Regions from separate parts of the Homo sapiens genome. Here region 1 is linked to region 2. The links are contacts of gene promoters, found by promoter capture Hi-C in human tissues and cell types (Jung and others, 2019). All regions are on one chromosome and are shown on one strand. Each heading gives the region's core, a stretch centred on a gene start or on the middle of the fragment in contact. The rest is flanking DNA. Distances are from core to core; before and after follow the strand shown.

What was found. The method cuts DNA at HindIII sites, captures the fragments that hold promoters and counts their contacts. A contact is called where the count stands out against the background at its distance.
Region 1: a contact is called between a fragment that was not itself captured here and the fragment with the promoter of SDR42E1 in region 2, in 1 of the 25 tissues and cell types used here (IMR-90 fibroblasts).

The regions. Positions count from the first base shown.
Region 1 is chr16:82,157,910-82,160,645 of GRCh38, reverse strand. All of the region lies in intron 2 of MPHOSPH6 (M-phase phosphoprotein 6), which reads left to right. Among named protein-coding and RNA genes, the nearest start is that of MPHOSPH6, 11 kb to the left of the region's middle. The HindIII fragment of the contact is 4,962 bases long and covers 1-2,736 here.
Region 2 is chr16:82,010,062-82,012,761 of GRCh38, reverse strand. SDR42E1 (short chain dehydrogenase/reductase family 42E, member 1) reads left to right here and starts at 1,292. Exons shown (of 3, transcript NM_145168.3): 1 at 1,292-1,375. RefSeq lists enhancers at 948-1,027, 1,038-1,127 and a silencer at 1,368-1,517. The HindIII fragment of the contact is 11,252 bases long and covers 1-2,700 here.

The sequences.
Region 1 (2,736 bases), core at 165-2,664, 150 kb before region 2:
AGATCTCCTGAGCTTAGAAAACTGGAACCTTGGATAACGGACCACAAGCAGACTTGCCTTCGGCCCCAAGAGAGGCATCTGTATTATGCTGGACAGTAAGCAAATCTGCCCTTCGCTTTAGAGGAAGACTGTTTTTCAAGGCTGCTCGCTATGCAGATATCCTTGCAAAGATAGTCCAGAGCAACCGGGCAGTTAGTGCCTCACTCAAAAAATGTGCAGGAATGTGAGACCCACTGAGAAGGGTTTTCTAACTGGAGTTTTGCCATGGTATTTGTGGCTTTAGGCAAGTCCAGCTTTTTCTGAGCAGTAGTTTCTCATCTGCGAAATTTATGAAATAATTTTGTGGGTGTGTTTTAGCCTGAAAATTATCCTCATTAATGAAAATTGGATAATTAAAATACAAAAAGAGGTAAGTTTTGAAATATTTCACTTGCTTGCCAACTCTGTAATTAATTTTTCTAATTCTTAAAACCATGCATGTAGATACAAAACACCTGTGCTCCTTTTTATATTAAAGATACGGTGTCAATGCAAACCCGTGGGAAAAACCTCTGAGGGGCCAGTAGTCCTGCTCTGAATCCAGTCCTGACCTCTGGAGGTTGTCTTTCTCTGGGTCCCTCCTTTGCCTTAAGTGAAAGCTTTGATGTATGGTGCTTTCCTGAGAGAGATGATTTACTTTGGAATTGAGGAGGTCTCATCAGCTGCTCCCTCTATAAGGAATAAGATTGGGCAATTGAGAGGGAATCCCAAGTTCATAGAAAAAGCTGAACAGCAAGTTCTGTGCCCAAATTTAGATTCCCTCAGGGAGAGGCGGTTCTGAAGTAAGTGAGTTTCTAGCCAGACTAGAGGGCCAGTGAGAGAGGAACCAAAATCACAGTGGTTCTCAGAGTTTTGGAACTCAGAAGCTATTTGCATTTATAAAAATTATTTAGAACTCCTAGGCCGGGCACGGTGGCTCACACCTGTAATCCCAGCACTTTGGGAGGCCGAGGCAGGCGGATCACGACGTCAGGAGATCGAGACCATCATGGTTAACATGGTGAAACCCCGTCTCTACTAAAAATACAAAAAAAATTAGCCAGGCATGATGGCGTGTGCCTGTAGTCCCAGCTTCTCAGGAGGCTGAGGCAGGAGAATCACTGGAATCCAGGAGGCGGAGGTTGCATTGAGCCGAGATTGCGCTACTGCACTCCAGCCTGGGCAACAGAATGAGACTCCATCTCAAAAAAAAAAATTTATTTAGAACACCTAAAGAGTGTTTTGTGTGATTTATATTTGTTAATATTTACTATGTAAGAAATTTTAAAAATTATTTAAATAACAAATTCATTACCTAACACATTTTTAATGACAAATAACTTTTTCAAGACAAAAAATTTAACGAGAAGAGTGGCACTGTTTTCTGTTTTTGCAAATCTCTTTAACATTGTGGCATAATAGAAGACAGCTAGACTCTGAACGCCTGCAGTCAGCCTGTTAAAGCATGTTGTATTGGTTGAAGTATATAAAGAAAATCCCCCTCACACAGGTGATACAGTTGAAAAGAGAGGAGTATCTCAATGGCCTTTTCAGATAATTCTTTGGTACAACTCCAAAACTCAGTCAGTAGTAGTTTCTTCAGAGTAAATTGCAACGTGGAATCTGAAAACACCAGTGAATTTTTCATGTCTTGGTCTGTCTTGTATTCCAAATAGATCTTTTACCTGTATATGATTTCTTAACATCCTGCATCTGTCATTTGGAAAATGAGTTGTATAGATTTTCCCAGTGTTAACTCATCTTGTTATACAATATCAAAAATCACATTCATTAGTATCACCGTGGGTTTCAACAGAAAAGTCTTTTAAGTGTTGGGAAGCTATCAAGCCCAAGATGACAGATAAAAGCTATTCGGAATTCTAACTTTTGCTTGAAAGCTTGAATTTTGTTATTGGCAGTAAATAGTGTCAGTTATTCCCCTTGAAGTGTCAGGTTCACTTTATTTATTTTCAAGAAAATGTCTGCCAAAGAACCCAAACCCGCAAAACCATAGTTACGGTGTGACATTGAAAAAAAGTGTCTAATTCATCTCTCGGTTCAGTCACACAAGTGCAGTTAGATTATTTGACTATGATGAAGTATCTTTTTTTTTTTTTTTTTTTTTTTTTGAGACGGAGTCTCGCTCTGTCACCCAGGCTGGAGTGCAGTGGCGAGATCTCCGCTCACTGCAAACTCCACCTCCCGGGTTCACACCATTCTGCTGCCTCAGCCTCCAATGTAGCTGGAACTACAGGCACCCGCCGCTATGCCCAGCCAATTTTTTTTTTTTTTTGTATTTTTTTAGTAGAGACAGGGTTTCATCGTATTAGCCAGGATGATCTCAATTTCCTGACCTCGTGATCCTCCTGCTTCGGCCTCCCAAACTGCTGGGATTACAGGTGTGAGCCACTGCGCCCGGCTAAGAAGTATCTTATATATAGAGTTTCAATTTCGTATACCGAATATTTTTTAAAGTAATTGAGGGCTAAGATTAACAGAAATAAATTTGTGCTGTGTCATCAAGAACATTCTAATGTGAAACTGGCATTTTTCTTTGAACTGTGAGGGCCTGGCAGTGAAGAATGTAACTACCAGGGTAGTCTGGTATCACTGCTGCTTTCACTCATGCTAAGATTCGTTTTACCCAGAGTTGCTTTTGCACAGTCTGCAAATGTCAACACAGTAAAAGATGACATCTTAATGTTATCATGCAAGTAA
Region 2 (2,700 bases), core at 43-2,542:
GAATACTAACATTTAAATTCACCATTTCTCATGTTTATCCACACACTCTAAATCTGGGTATCCCTCAGAGGATCCTGTAATTCCCCAAAGGAAGTCTGTCTTCTTTACTGCATCCTCAGTGGGTCTTTTCTTCCTTAGCTGCTGGCCTCAAGAGCATATAGCTGGTCTCTCAGCCCCCTGAATACCCTTCCTCTTCTCTTCTAATTTTTATGTATCCTAAGCAGCCACTGCAAAGCTGTTCTTTAAGACTGCTTAGCACAAGAAGTCTCCTGTGACTTATGCCTGCCTAATAGGTGAGGACAAGACAGGCAGGAAAGCCAGAGCATCCTATGAGAGAGGCCAGTGCCAGGGACTGGCACTTCTTGATTTCTTCACCTGGGCTTCATTAATTTTTATATCCTAGGACTTGAGCTTTGTCCTTGTGACTGTGTGTGCTTAGTGAAAACTGAGCAGTAAATCAGGCAATTGATATGAACCTCTCTGAGTCTGCCTTTGGTACCAGATCTATCGGCAAGAGCACCACATGAAGTCAAAACTTCCATCCTCCAAGACACTAAAATGAAATCCTCCCCAGCCAGGGGTCCATTCCAGGATGCATGTCCATACACGTGTACAGTCTGCAACCATCCACAGAACCACACTCATGATGAGGAGACAAAAGATGGGCCTCAAAAGGAGACCTCTGAGTGAGGATGCCAACTTTCCTTTCTGCATTCCTTGGTTCCTTCAGCAACAAAGATTAGTCTTGGCATCACTGCCTGCTTGGCGACCAGAACAAAGAGAAATAAGGAAAATTAGGGACACAGGAAAACCTATGGGCACACATAGATATGGAAACTCAGAGATAATAGAAACTTAAAGAGATACATGGAGAGTGAATATTCTGCCTCCCTATAGAGCCTTTTCCATCATCCATCCACCCAAGCAATGCTGACCTGAGTGCCTATTTATCAGGCACTGGTCTTGGCCTTGGGGATAAACAAAGATGGAGGTGAAAGTCTAAAAGCAGACACTGGAGGTGGGAAGAGCAGTTGACGTGGCCCTAACAGGGTTCCCACCACGGCGGAACGCACAGACAGGGGACGTGGGGGAAGACGTGACCCTAAAAGGGTTCCCGCCACGGCGGAACGCACAGCCAGAGAACGTGGGGGAATTCATGAAGCGAACCTCCTGCTACCTCAACGCCGGTGAAGGTGAAGGAGACACCTGCGCGTCATAGAGACTCCGAGACCTCCAGGCTTCCTAGAGAGGCCCGGAAGTGGCTCCAGGAGGCAGGTCCGACGGCTTCGGCGCCCCAGCTGTGGTGATGGGTAGCTAGGAGGCCTGGGCCTCTCTGCCTGCTGTAGCCGTCTGCCGCGCCCTTGTTCCTGCAGCTGTGAGTGGGCCTGGGCTGGGGTTGGGGGGCCGCCGCCCTTCCGCGGGGACCCTGGACCGCCTCGGCCTGGAACGCGACAGGTGGCGGTCCCGGGGGTGGGGGACGGTGGTGAATGACTGAGCAGGGTGGCGGGAAGGAGTATCCCCTTTCAGATGTCTTCCTGATCCCAGGGGACCGGGCGCAGCTTGGCTTTCTAGAATGTCGCCAAGGCCTCAAACACTGGCCCTCCGCATTTTTTGTTTTTAAGGACATCGGGGCCCCAAGCTCCGAACTTTCCACAGGTGGCTGGCTATACTTGATTCCTGTCTTTGATTTTCTGCACACTTTGGGAGAACGATTACCTCCTCTTTATCACTTGGTTCTGGTTTGCCACTTAAAAGTGGCAGTGACAGGTTCCCATTTAAACTGCATGTATTTGTTGGGAAAAGGTAAGTAGGTTTAAACAAAACCTTATAGGCTAGTCATAATACCAGATGAATCAGATGTGACAGAAATTGTGGAGGTGGAGTGAGCCCTGAAAATCTGAGACGGGTCTCAGTTCATTTAGAAAGTTTATTTTGCCAAGGTTGAAGACATGTACCCATGACACAGCCTCAGGCGGTCCTGACGATGTATTCTTAATGTGGTCAGAGCCCAGTTTCGTTTTCTACATTTTAGGGAGACATGAGACAAGAACAGATGTAAGATGAACATGTTTTTCGGTCTGGAAAGGCGGGACAACTCGAAACGGGGAGGGGGCTTCCAGGTCATAGGTAGGTAAGAGACAAATGGTTGCATTATTTTGAGTTTGATTAGCCTCTCCAAAGGAAGCAATCAGATATGCCTTTATTTTAGTGAGCAGAGATACATGAATAGAATGGGAGGCAGGTTTGCCCTAAGCAGTTCTCAGCTTGACTTTTCCCTTTAGCTTAGTGATCTTGGGACCCCAAGATTTATTTTCCTTTCACAGTGATAAGATAATGACCTAAGCGAATCTGTATTGTCCCAGCCTTATTGTGCGGCATTACATGTAGTGGTTAAGAGTCATACAGACCCGGCTTCAAGTCCTGAACCCTGCCCAACCCCTTATGACCTGCATAATTTGTGGGCAAGGTTCCTAACCTCTGATCTATTTTCCTCATTTCTGAAAGCTGATGATAATACTAGTAACAACTTCGGAAGATTGTCCTGAGGCTTAAATGCTAAACCTTTAAACTACCTGTATTAATCCATTCTCATGCTGCTAATAAAAACATACCCAAGACTGGGTAATTTATAAAGTTAAGAGGTTTGATGGACTCACAGTTCCACATGGCTGGGGAAGCCTCATAATCATGCCAGAAGGC